4 separate regions of the Homo sapiens genome follow, and regions 1, 2 and 4 are each linked to region 3. Evidence: promoter capture Hi-C in 16 types of primary human blood cells and fetal thymus (Javierre and others, 2016). All regions are on one chromosome and are shown on one strand. Each heading gives the region's core, a stretch centred on a gene start or on the middle of the fragment in contact. The rest is flanking DNA. Distances are from core to core; before and after follow the strand shown. Region 1 overlaps SHH (sonic hedgehog signaling molecule). Region 2 overlaps RBM33 (RNA binding motif protein 33). Region 3 holds the start of UBE3C (ubiquitin protein ligase E3C). Region 4 overlaps RBM33 (RNA binding motif protein 33).

Region 1 (3,246 bases), core at 317-2,816, 1.3 Mb before region 3:
CAAAGGGAATATGAAACCATAAAGACAACAGAGGAGATGGCTGTTACATCGGAAACTAGTTAAATTAAAATAATATATTTTCATATTTTACACTATTTCAAAAATGAAATGTAATTCAGTTAAGTATTGATCTCTCAAAAAATCTAATTTACAATTCTGTGTATAAAAATATAATTTGTGGACCCCCATGAAGCACGTTTGAGTTTGCACTTGCTGAGAAGCAGGAGATGGAAGGGAGGGATGGCGGGGACAGAGGTTTGCTTTCTGACAGCCGGGACGAGGGACATGTAGAAAAATAGACTCTGAGCAGGTTGCTTGGCCTCACAAAATAATCTTTCCCCCGTGAGTACAGTTCACATGATCATAATAAATTATCCAAGAAACAAACTATTTAAGGCTCTTGAAGGTCCGGTTCATATTATTTAAAACATCTATTCATACCAAACAAATAAATAGCCAGGAGAGGAGGAAAAAATAACCAAAATAAAACAATAACCAAAAAAATTCAAAAAATATATATCAACTAAGCACAACAACAAAACTTCCCGGGGTCCTTGTTTCCTTAGAGTCTACTTTGGACTGTCCTACTTTATTATTCTTATTCTTATTATAACTCAGTCTGGTTCGTGCGCCTTTTCCGAGTGTCTTTTTGCTTTGCGTTGCTGTTGCTGCCCCGCCCCGCCCCCTCCCGCGCCCCTCCCCCGGCCCCCCGGCTTCAGCTGGACTTGACCGCCATGCCCAGCGGGTGCAGGGCCTCGCTGTCCAGGAGCCAGGTGCCTATTTGGTAGAGCAGCTGCGAGTACCAGTGGATGCCCGCGGTGGCCCCCGCACCCGGAGCGTCGGCAGCACCTGGAGCGGTTAGGGCTACTCTGCCGCCGCCGCCCCCGCGGTCCCCGCCGCCGCTGTCCCCGCCGCGGTCCGTGCGCGCGGGCGCCAGTGCAGCCAGGAGCGCGTGCGCCAGGCGGAAGGGCGCGAAGGCCCGGTGCGCCCAGCTGTGCTCCTCGATGACCGCGTAGCACGAGGCCAGCACCCGGTTGATGAGAATGGTGCCCTGGGCCGTGAGCGGCGCGTAGGCGCCCGCGGCCTCCTCGCTTAGGGTCACGCTGTGCACAGCGGCGGGCAGGAGCCGGCGGTCCCCGTCACGCTCGGCCACCACGTACACGCGCTGGCCCGGGCGCACGCGGCTGGCGAACAGCGCCCGAGGCCCCAGTGCGCCCCCGGAAGGCGGCCCCGAGCCCGAGGACGCCTCGGGCTCCCCGGTGGCCGAGTCGTTGTGCGGCGCCACAAAGAGCAGGTGCGCGGCGGTGAGCAGCAGGCGCTCGCGCGGCTCCCGCGTCTCGATCACGTAGAAGACCTTCTTGGCGCCGTCGTCGCGGTCCAGGAAAGTGAGGAAGTCGCTGTAGAGCAGCCGGCCCTGGTCGTCCGCCGCCAGCACGCGGTCCCCGGGGCTCAGGTCCTTCACCAGCTTGGTGCCGCCCTGCTCCAGGTGCACCGTGGCCGAGCCCGGGAAGCAGCCTCCCGATTTGGCCGCCACCGAGTTCTCTGCGGGTGAGGAGAAGGGAAAGAAGAGAGGACAGGGCATTGAGTTCCGAGAGGGAGGCGCGTCTCGGGGAGGAGGGCGCACGCTTGGTGCCCGCGCTCCTAGGCCAGGGGTGCGCAAGGCGCGGGGCGGGGCGATTGATTCCAGGCGGGTCCCGCACACACCTCCCTCCCCCAACCCCACTGCCCCAGGGACAGGATTCCGACACATTCCTTAACGACTCTCTAAGTCTGGGCTGGCGGTCACAGAGGTTGGCTGGCGTTTCCTGCAGAGGCCGGTGACACTCTTTCCTTCCGCCTTCCTCCAACCCCACCCCCAGCTCCGCACACACCCGGCCTCGCCGCGAATCCATCCAGAGGGTGTTTGCTCTGCACTTGGATTCCTCAGGAAGCCTCCTTGAGCTCCCGCGGGCGCCGGGCGCACCCTCCTTCCCTCCCGCCCCGGCGCGGGGCGCGGCGCCTGCTCGCGCACTCAGCACCCGGGCTGCGCGGCGGAAACCCCTGGCCCGCCTGCCCGCCTGCCCGCCTGCCCGCAGCACCCTGCCGCGCCTCGGCGTGGGCCTGCGGAGGGGCGGGGGCGGGGAGTGAAAAATAGCTGCAGTAGTTGTAGCAACTGGACAAACATTCCAGAGATTGGCCGAGGTGTGAAAATCCGAGGCTTGTGTGGATTTTCTAATTAAAATCCAATAAAGGGCCCAGCATTGTCATTGTGATTTCTGGGATAAACAGGAGACACTCTTGGAAGGGGACACTTCCATTTTCTCCCCTCCCTGTTCTCAGCTCACTCTCTCCCCAGCTCGCGGGCCTCCCCCTCCCTATTTGCTCAGGTGCAACCCCCCCCCACCCCGTGTGCAATTCACAAGCACTATTTGCACAGCCAGGCCTCTCTTCCAAGCACTCAAGATGTGTATTTGAATTTTAAATGGCGGGGCCTGTTCGGAGCGCTGGAAGCGCCGGGTCTCAAGGCCCCTTGACTACCCGCTTTCTCGAGCCCTCTGTCGCTCTCTGAGGCTCACTGTCCCCAGGACAATAATTGAAGTTGGGGCGGAGCGCAGGGGGCCGGGGAGGAGGGCGGGGAGGGCCGTCTTCTTTGCATTCCAATCTCCGGGATCATGCTTTTTGCAAATAGAGATTGCCAGAAAGAATCTTCCTGCTGGAATTACAGGGGGCTTTTAATCTTCTCATCGGTTTCTCTGGCATGAAGTGCGGGGCTGGCCGTTGGAGGCCCTCCGTAGCCCCCCGGAATGCGACCCCGGGCGCTGGCGAGCCCGAGTCGTCGAGTCGCACGGCCCGGCTTGACACGCTGCGCCCCGCGCCCCCGCCCGTGTGCTCAGAATGCCAATGAGCGGCTCCCGCGCCGCGGCTCCGCTCTCCCGGCGCGATCCGGGGGATGGATTAGCGCTGCTCACTTGGGAGGAGGCCTCCGGAGACCCCCGCTAGGGGGACCCCGCGGGCAGGGAGCCGGGGAGGAGGTTTTGCGCAGGGGGCGCCCTGGGCCCAGGGGCCGCCGCCGAGCCCGCGAGGTGGGGGCGCCGCCTCCTGCCTGCCTGCAGCCGGGAGCTCTCCGGGCCGCACACCCGCCCCTGCCGCCCCCGCTCCACGCCTTTGCTTTCTGTGGGGACGAGAAGCCACTCTAGCCTTTACCTACAAGTGTGCCTTGACACCTTAACAGTGTTTTCCTACTAACATAGTGCCATTAACATGGAA
Region 2 (3,335 bases), core at 707-3,206, 1.4 Mb before region 3:
GAGGGTAGACAGGAAGCAAATTTTAGGGCAGCACGCTTGTTCATTATGTTGAGTGACTGAAAACCAAGGCATTCCTCTGATTGAAGAATCTCACTGGAAGTTAATGCTTTCTTCACGGATAGCTTCTCAATCAAATCGAGGTTTTTAAGCTACGTAGATTACAAGTAAAACCTGATACCAAATATTGTATGATTGGCAGCCTGATACCCTCATTTCACATTGTGAAATTGCCCAAAGGAAATAAAGTCACCACATATATCTAGAAATGTTATTTCCCAAAAGAACTGCATGATATTTTCTTTTTTCTTATTTTATTTTATTTTTTATTTTTGGGAGACAGAGTCTCGCTCTGTCACCCAGGCTGGAGTGCAGTGGTATGATCCTGTGATCATGATTCACTGCAACCTCCACCTGCTGGGCTCAAGGGATCCTTCCGCCTCAGCCTTCTGAGTACCTAGGACTAGAGGTGTACACCACTGGGCCTGGCTAATTTTTGATTTTTTTTTGTGGAGACAGGCCCTCACTTGAGTATAGTACTTCCAAAATCCAGATTCTATCTGTGAATTGCAGAATGTTGATCATTGTTTTATGATATATGAAATTTTCCTTATCCATTCTTAATGAAGGAATTTTTATATTTTTAGACAAGATAAGTTTAGAGAAGGTCCATTATTGTAGTTCTCACAGTAAGCTCTGCTGCAGTATTGGCAGCTGTTGTGTGAAACTGTTTCAGTCACTTTTGAGTGTTGTTTAAACCCCCCAGGATCCTGGAGCACTGAGCATGCTGGTGCTGTTGCCGGAAGAACGGAGAGAACCCCGGAGGCACGGCTGCAGCAGCTCTAACCTAGGTTAGGGTTAGGGTTTAGGTTCGGGTTAGGTTAGGGTTAGGGTTAGGCTGGGATGGACAAGTGACACTCACTCCACACAGCCCCTTACCTGGGAACAGAACAGATAGGATTTTCTCTTTGGAAGTTGCTCTATTGTTTCAGTGACTGAGTATCATTCACAGGCTAATACACAAAAGGGGTGCATGCTGAAATATGAGTCTGGCAGATTGGGAGAGAAAACAGGTCTCTGTCAAGAAATACAGGCGGAATTTCAAAGTCCAGAAAGCCATATTGCAAGCCATATTGCTGAGAATGTATCCAGGAGACCACGTTGTGGGGCTTTACTTTTCCTGTTAACTTAATGACAAGTGAAACTATCAAATTTCTTTTGTATTCATTTTTTATTTCAGAAAGAAGGGAGAAAGTCTGATATTTTACTGAACTTGTTTCAGAAAAAAACAGACCAATTCCGTTACTGCCTAGTGGGCTGCCTCATTGCTGGCCTGTCTCAGTGATGTCCCTAGACCAGGGCCGATGCTTCTGGGGTAGCCTGTGCGCAGGCCTTCTTGATGCCCTTGAATTTGGAGACTTGAACCTTTGTATTTCTGTGTAAACGCTGTTGTAGAAGCACTGGAAGACACCTTTTTCGGGAGTGTTTGAGTATTCTTTTAGAGCTCTGCTAGTCTTGTTTACTGATAGACATTCTATAGTTATTAAAATGGAGAGCAGTTATTTCATATACAGTGTAACTTTTTAAAACACTTTCCAAGTCACTGATGTTTTTTAGCTGTTTGCTTCCATTGTAGCTCTTTGACATGCTTTAAAATGAAATGGCCACATGTGCCTCAGTATTTTCAAGGGATCATGTGCTGGTAGTTAGTTATTTTCTCTAGCTATTCTGTTTCACTGAACAGAAGCTCAGACACAGCAAATAGTTTCTGGCCACCAAAAGTGCCTGCTGAATGCAGTCCTTCAGGACAGTGTTTGCTGGTGCCCATGCCAGGACCTGCCCAGGGACACCTGTTCTTAGAAGAATCGGGCACCAGGTGCGGTGGCTCATGCCTGTAATCCCAGCACTTTGGGAGGCCAAGGCAGAGGCGGATCATGAGGTCAGAAGTTTGAGACCAGCCTGGCCAACATAGTGAAACCCGGTCTCTACTAAAAATACAAAAAATTAGCTAGGGCGTGGTGATGGGTGCCTATAATCCCAGCTACTTGGGAGGCTGAGGTAGGAGAATCACTTGAACCCAGGAGGTGGAGGTTGCAGTGAGCTGAGATCCTGCCATTGCACACCAGCCCAGGCAACAGTGCGAGACTCCATCTCCAAAAAAAAAAAAAAAAAAAAAAAAAAAGGAGTCAGGGGCTCCTGTGCGTGCTCCAGACAGCAGGTACTAAGTTGACTGTGTCCTGAGGTAATTGAGAAGAACCAGACTCTAGAGCTTTGAGTTGCTTGAGAGTTCACAGAGCGCCACTGAACAGATCCACAGATGGCTGTGCTCTCCTCCTGCCTGCCCCTCCCAGCTCTAGATCCTAAAGGCTTAAGAAAGCAGAAAGCAGCTCCCCCTCTTCCTCAGGCAGCAGATTTGAGGACTAGATGTAAGTTTCGCTTTGCAAACACTTCCTCTGTAAATCTTTACTGGATTCATCATTTCTTTTGGCCAATCTTCATAAATTCATTTCTTTTTCACTGGCATTGTTTTAGGCCAGTGGGTGGCGACTTCATTTCAGATACCACTGTTTAAGACTGGTGTTCACAAACTCTTAAAGTACAAAATGTGACCACGTTATGCTGATGTCTGCCCCAGGCACCACTGCCCTCACCATGGCCCAGCCAGATGCACAGAGATGGTAGACTAGGGGCCATTGCCTACTGTGGGCTGTGGGGCCCCCATACTAAACAGTTTCCTCTGGTGTGATGAGTCCTGTTCTTAAAAAATTCATGGGGGTCCCTATTAAAAATCACCTGATAAGAAGGCGTGAGAAGAGGAGATGTCTCTATCCAAGGGTACCTGCTACCCGGTCTCCCAGAGCAGGTTGGGGCAGCTGATGGGGCCAGATGATGGGAGGCCTTAACACTAGGCTTGGAAGATGTAACTGTTGCTGTTGGGAATGATTTAGTAAAGCACTGTTTTGGAGTAGATTATCTAGATAAGTAAGACAAATTGCCAGGGAGCTAGAAAGGAAAATCAATTAGTGTGTTCCAAATGTCCGCCTGGACTCATTTTGTGTTAAAACTAATAATGCTTAAATATATATATTCATATTTTTTATTGTCATTTACAACTGATCTTAAAGTGTTTGTTTTCTTCCTCTAGAGTTTACAGATGCTTCCTCAGCAACGGAAAGCCATAGCTAAGTTCAAGGAGCCAGCCCACGCATTAGCATTTCAGCAGAAATTCCACAGGTGACCAGTGTGTTCTGTGCTTGTGGTGATAAGGGGGCGGGAGCAAGGCCCTCCTTCCTGTGCCCTCCCATCCATCATGGTAGCAAGCGTGTGTCCCCACCTGT
Region 3 (3,029 bases), core at 1-2,500:
TGCCTTAGCCTCCAGAGTAGCTTGGACTACAGGCGTGCACCACCACACCGGCCTAAGTTTTGTATTTTATTAGAGATGGGGTTTCACCATGTTGGCCAGGCTGGTCTCGAACTTTTCACTTCAGGTGATCCGCCCGCCTTGGCCTCCCAGAGTGCTGGGATTACCGGCGTGAGCGACCGTGCTCGGCCGCAGGACGACTGTAGATGATATCGTATTGTGTGTTGAAATTTTGCTAAGAGAGTAGATTTTATGTACTCTTACCACACACACACAAAGAGGGTAGTCATTTCACAATGTCTCTATGAAATCATCATGTTGCACACCTTGTATACAACCAAAAATCAATTTTTAGAAATTGGTTTCAATCGTGTATGATATATATGTATATGCACATGTATATGAGATATTATGTATACGTATGTGTGGATATAAGACACATGTTTATGTATAGGTGGTCCCCAACTTAAAATGGCTCAACTTACAATTTTTTGACTTTGTGATGGGTTTATTGTAGCATTAAATACATTTTCAACTTACAATATTTTCATCTTACGATGGGTTTATCAGGACAAAGCCCCATGGTAAGTCCAGGAGCAAATATTTTTGCATACACAGGTATGTGTACATGATACATATTTATATGTATTGATGCTGTATCTATAGATGCATATGTGTGCTATGTATGAGGCAAATCTGCGCATGTCTGTGTACATGGTAAATATTTACGTCCGTCTGTGCGTGTCATAGACATAGAACAGGTGGGATGTAAACAGACGGGCTGGGCCTAGCTGCTCCTTTCCCGCCTCACTCGAGTCTGGCACCAGATTGGCCGCTCCCAGCCCGCTCCGGGTGCCGGCCCCTGCACCCCACCCTGCACCCCGCACCCTGCCCTGCACCCCATCCCGGCCCGTGCCTCGCACTCCACCTTTCCCGCACCCTGCCCCGCACCCAACACCTCCCGCGCCCCTCGCCGCGCTCCCCCAGCACGCACCAGGCCCCGCCCACTCCGCCGCGTGCCCAGCCCGCGTCACCGCCGTCCTCCCCAGGCTCCAGCGCGCCTTGCGGGGCCGCGCACGCTAGCGGAACCGCCGGGAAGAGCGCCGTGCCGTCAATGGCGGAGGCGCGCACGTCTGCAGGGCCGCGCACGTCTGCAGGGCCGCGCACGTCTGCAGGGCCGCGCACGTCTGCAGGGCCGCGCACGTCTGCAGGGCCGCGCACGTCTGCAGGGCCGCGCACGTCTGCAGGGCCGCGCACGCACTGACGGCTGACCGCCATCTTCCCTCCCGAGGCGGCAGTTCCAGGTGCAAGCGCCGGGTTTGCTGCCCGCTGGGCGCCCCTGCAGCGGCCCGAGCTGTGGCCGGCGTGGATGAGGGGCAGGCGAGGCAGGGCCGCCCCTCCAGTATTGCCGCCCCTCCCGCCCCAGGGCAGGGCTGGGAGGGTACAGCCCGGGGGCGGGCTCGGGTCGCCTCCCGGCCGCCGCGTCCTCGCTGCCCCGGGCCGGGCGGGCGGGCGCCGAGAGCCTCCCAGCCCGCCCCGTGCCCCGCCCGCCCGGCTGCTTCCGCGGCGGCGCTGCCCGCACATGGGCTAGGCTGCCAGGATGTTCAGCTTCGAAGGCGACTTCAAGACGCGGCCCAAGGTGTCCCTTGGCGGCGCGAGCAGGAAGGTGAGGGCCGGGCTGGCGGGGCGCCCTCGGCTCGGGGCCTGCGCGGCCGGGGCTCGGGGCTGGGACTCGGGGCTGGACTCGGGGCTGGACTCGGGGCCGAGACTTGGGGCTGGATTCGGGGCCTCCCTGGCGGGGACTCGGGGCTTCCTCGCCGGATCTCGGGGCCGCTCCGGCCGGGACTCGGGGTTGGACTCGGAGCCGAGACTTGGGGCCAGGACTCTGGCTGGGGCTTAGGACTGGACTCGGGGCCTCCCTGGCTGGAACTCGAGGCCGCGCCCGTGGGGGCCTTGCCTGTCCACTGCGCTTCGGGACCCGGGCGCGCTGGCCGTGGCTCCCTTCCATGCAGGAGGCCGGTGAACCCTGGCACGCTTTGTGCCACCCAAGGTGAACTTACCCTTTCTGGGTGTTTCCTTTCAGAAATGCGCTTTCCATGCTCGCTCCCGCATGGCATCAGGGAGTGGCTGCTTTTCGAATGCCACCTGAAGGGCGTTTTCGGTTGTAGAAGGTGAACGGCACGCATTTGCTGATGTCGATAATCTCTAAAGTAGAGGCAGAACGTCTCATGAATAGCCACGTGTTTGAATCCAAGACGAGGGCAATTATTTGCCACCAGCCTCCTGGAAACTGTGGAGAGACTCCGGACTTACATCTGTTGTGATCGACATTAAGTTGTTCGCATGGTAATTGTTTAGGATAAGGGTAGGCAAACCATGACGCCTCTGTTCTAGTCTAGAATTTCTAGCTGTCTGTCCCTGAAGACGGGCATCAGTTGGTTCACTGGAACCGCTAAGTCGTTGAACACTGTGTGGTCTTGTTCCCGCCCCTCCCTTCCCACCCCTTCCCATCATTTCTGAAATGTTCTTTAAAATGCTTCACCTAGTTTTTCTTGTCTATCAGTATATTCTGTATATCACAACCACCAGGTAGGCACATAACGCAGAGTGGGTGCTGGCAGGCCAAGGAGGAACTGCTGTTATTAAGATTGTGCTGTGGGGCTGTGTTTGGTGGTTTCTGAGGTTAGAAGGGAACCTGGGTAAAGAGTTGGGAGAGAAGTGTGCTGATAATTTTTCAGCTTTGAGGTTCGTGTGATGGTGATTGCTTGGAAGTCACTTGTGCTCCAGAACTAAGTACTGTGCAGTTAAGGGTGGTCGTGGTAGCACTTAGGGTCTTCCACGTTAATGAAAATGTTTTATGAGATCAAAGGATTTCTACAGTTAGGAGAGACTTCAGAGAATCTCAGGGCCAAATCGCCTTGCTTACAAGTTCGGAAGGTGAGCTGCAGAACATTTGAAGGAGTGCCCATTCACACAGCAAGCTAGTGGCAGACCATCTGAGACTCCATGCCATTTACACAGCGCCGCGCGGC
Region 4 (3,212 bases), core at 151-2,650, 1.5 Mb before region 3:
CCCACATAAGCCTGTAAGCCTCATGAGGAGAAAAAATGCTGTTTTACCATGCATTCCACATCTTCCTGGCACATAGCATGTGTTAGATATTTGGTGAATGAATTAAAGAATGACATATTTTCTGTATGAATCTGAAAAAATATAATTGTATCCTAATTTATGTTAGTCAATTCCACATGATTCACCTGTGTAACTGATTAAATCATGTTAGCTTGATTTTTTCGGTCCCTCAGTTTTGGGACTGAAAATTGGACATTTTAAATATGGTGATGTGGAAATTTTGGAAGTCAGAATGTCCCCCCCCTTTTCTGGGTTTGCTATATTTCTTGTTGTGGCCTTCAGTTGTCTGGTTTTTTAATGACTTGCCAAATGAAGAGACTCTATTCCTTGTCTCCTGTGGTCACTGATGTCTCCATTGTGTTGTATCATTGCCCAGCCAGTGATCTGATGGAGATGTCCTCAAATGGCTGGAGCTGCAAATAAAACAAAACCAAAACCAAAAAACAAACAAAAACTCCTGTGCTTACGTTACTTCATTGCTCATCCAGGCCACCTATAACCCCAACCTTAGCCTCACCTTCTGCATATGCGTAGCTCAAAGATCAGCCAGAGGTATAAATCTAGGGTTCTTTCAAGTTGTTTTCTGAGCATGTGCCCAGCCTTCAGCATATGCATGGTCTTCCAGATTTCCCATTATACATGGGAGCCCCCAACACTCTCATTCCTTCATATATTTTCCTCCTCAGCCTCTTCTTTCCCAGGCTTTTCAGTTTGTATGTTGCTAACCCTGGCCATCATCCCTTGCCCCAGGTGACCCTGGTTAGTGGATGTCTTTAAATGCTTTTGACAAGCACTGCCTGGGATGCCGCTCTAGCTCTGAGAGAGTTCTGAAGGGGTGGTCTCTGAGCTGATTCCTCAGCTCAGGTCACAATGCACAATCACAATTTTTTGAGGACAGGTTCTTATTGACCCCTTTAGCATCACTGCACCAGGAGCACTGACTGCCATCCCCAGTGCTGCCTCTGAGCTGTGAAACGCTTTCTCTGCATCTGTTGTGATTATGTGTTCTTCCCCTGTTCTTTAATCTCTTAATGTAATCTATTGATAGATTTCCAGTGCTGAACTAAGCATGCATTCTGGGGTTCAAAATCTTGATCTCCACATTTTGTTCTTTTTAATATATTGTTGGATTTCATTTTAGGATTTATCTCTGATCATAAGGGAGACTGACTTACTGTTTTCTTCCTTGGTATTTGTGTGTACATTTGTGCTATCCTTTTATTTATGATATGTTGGTTTTTAGAATGAGTTGTGAAATTTTCTGGGATGGTGTAAAAATCTGTTATTGACTGTGGAAGAACTCTTTTCTCCAGAGCCATTTGGGTCTGGTTCCCTTTAAAAAAGTTATCTTTTCAATTTCCTGTATTATTATTGATTTATTTAGTTTTATAAGATGAAAAGTCAATTACGATCATTTAAATTTTCCTAGAAAAATTATTCTTTATGTTCAGATTTCCACATTGATATAGAGTTAAGCAATGCCACAGCTTCTTTTTGTTGTTGTTGTTGTTGTTTTTGTTTTGAGACGGACTCTCGCTCTATCGCCCAGGCTGGAGTGTTGTAGTGGTGTGATCTCAGCTCACTGCCACCTCCACCTCTTGGGTTCAAGCGATTCTTCAGCCTCAGCCTCTCAAGTAGCTGGGATTACAGGCACATGCTACCACACCCAGCTGATTTTTGTATTTTTAGTAGAGACGGGGTTTTGCCACGTTGGCCAGGCTGGTCTGGAACTCCTGACCTCAGGTGATCTGCCCGCCTCGGCCTCCCAAAGTGCTAGGATTACAGGCGTGAGCCACTGCACCTGGCCGACAGCTTCTTGAGTGTGTGTGTTGAAGGTAAATTTTTTGAGATTGAGACTCCTGAGTCTGAAGGAAATTTTAATTTTCACAACTTGATTGGTGGTTTTGTTGGGTCCAGAATTTTAGATTTGAGTTTATTTTTGTAAGATTTTTGGCGGTATTGTTGTGTTTTCTGGCATCCAGATCTGCTCTTGAGAAGTTTGAGGACATTCTGATTCCTAATCATTTTTTATGTGACCTTTTTTCATTCTAGAAGTTTTTAACAACATTTTCTCCTCTTTGTTTGACATTTCATCCCTTAAACTCAGCCATTTAGAAGGCTTCATGGCTAGGCCAGGAGGTGGAGGTTGTAGTGAGCCGAGATCGCACCACTGCACTCCAGCCTGGGCAACAGGGAAACTCTTTGTCTCACCAAAAAAAAAAAAAAAAAAAAGGGTCTAGGTTCCTGGGAAAAGAAATGAGTGTCAGTTCCTATAGATTTTAAGTCATGATGGGAACATCCAGTAGGCTGAGCTCAGCTCACTTGCCTCTTCTCGGCTACCCAAGTTTATAGAGCAAGCCTTTATAACTTCCATAATAGGAGGGGTCCTATCTCATATCAAGCAGGAATTCTATTATGATTGATTTTTAAACCCTGAATGATGAAAGTTTGTTGAAAGACAAACAAATGACCAATGAGGACTACACTTCATAAACAAAATAAAAACTTCATTTTAGGGAGAACCTCTCCTGGGGCCCGTGTAACATAGGAGATTTTTAAAACAGTGACTACAAATTATTTCTAAAGCAACATGGTGTAGGAACTCTTTCTGAAAATTTGGCTTGGCTATTCAGAACTTACTAGTTATGCTGTAAGGCTCATATGTTCACTTCGAAAGTTATTGGACATTACCTGATTTGTAGTTAATATTTAAATAAAGGATCTGGATTTCCTCATCTATAAAATAAGGAATTTTGACTATTAGTGATTTGGACTAGGAACATATTATACATGAGTGTGATATTGAGGAAAAAGAAGGTTGAGAACCTTTGGAATACAAAGGTCAGCAAACTTTTTCTGTAAAGGGTCAGATAGTAAATATTTTAGGCTTTGCAGGGCAGATGAGTTTTGTTGGAAGTGCTGAACTCCGCCGTTTACCTTGAAAGCAGCCATAGACAATATATGCCTGAATTGGAATAGCTGTGTTCCATTAAAAGCTTATTTACATACACGGGTGGTAGCTAAATTTGGGCAGAAACAGGTGGCAGGCCCTACTTGGCCCATGGGCTTTGGTTTGCTGACCCTTAGATTAGATAATTGCTAGAACCCTATCACAAGCTAATAGTCTATGTGGTATCTTATCCAAGTCGAGG

The links. Contacts are between HindIII fragments. The CHiCAGO score rates a contact against its expected background, and 5 or more counts as called.
Region 1: a fragment that was not itself captured here is called in contact with the fragment with the promoter of UBE3C in region 3 in 2 of 17 cell types (M1 macrophages and megakaryocytes); the score reaches 5.1 in M1 macrophages.
Region 2: a contact is called between a fragment that was not itself captured here and the fragment with the promoter of UBE3C in region 3, in 2 of 17 cell types (monocytes and M0 macrophages). The highest score is 6.2, in monocytes.
Region 4: a contact is called between a fragment that was not itself captured here and the fragment with the promoter of UBE3C in region 3, in 1 of 17 cell types (monocytes). The highest score is 6.6, in monocytes.

Annotation. Positions count from the first base shown.
Region 1 is chr7:155,802,185-155,805,430 of GRCh38, forward strand. SHH (sonic hedgehog signaling molecule) reads right to left here. Exons shown (of 3, transcript NM_000193.4): 3 at 1-1,542. The coding sequence ends at 716. Among named protein-coding and RNA genes, the nearest start is that of SHH, 8.7 kb to the right of the region's middle. RefSeq lists a silencer at 2,896-3,075 and an enhancer at 2,982-3,246. The HindIII fragment of the contact is 9,246 bases long and covers 1-3,246 here.
Region 2 is chr7:155,771,417-155,774,751 of GRCh38, forward strand. It overlaps RBM33 (RNA binding motif protein 33), which reads left to right. Exons shown (of 18, transcript NM_053043.3): 17 at 3,143-3,231. Among named protein-coding and RNA genes, the nearest start is that of SHH, 39 kb to the right of the region's middle. The HindIII fragment of the contact is 4,227 bases long and covers 1-3,335 here.
Region 3 is chr7:157,137,676-157,140,704 of GRCh38, forward strand. It overlaps UBE3C (ubiquitin protein ligase E3C), which reads left to right and starts at 1,251. Exons shown (of 23, transcript NM_014671.3): 1 at 1,251-1,663. The coding sequence starts at 1,598. RefSeq lists silencers at 743-1,092, 1,373-1,762, 1,813-1,882. The HindIII fragment of the contact is 7,086 bases long and covers 1-3,029 here.
Region 4 is chr7:155,649,311-155,652,522 of GRCh38, forward strand. All of the region lies in intron 1 of RBM33 (RNA binding motif protein 33), which reads left to right. Among named protein-coding and RNA genes, the nearest start is that of RBM33, 6.3 kb to the left of the region's middle. The HindIII fragment of the contact is 3,307 bases long and covers 1-3,054 here.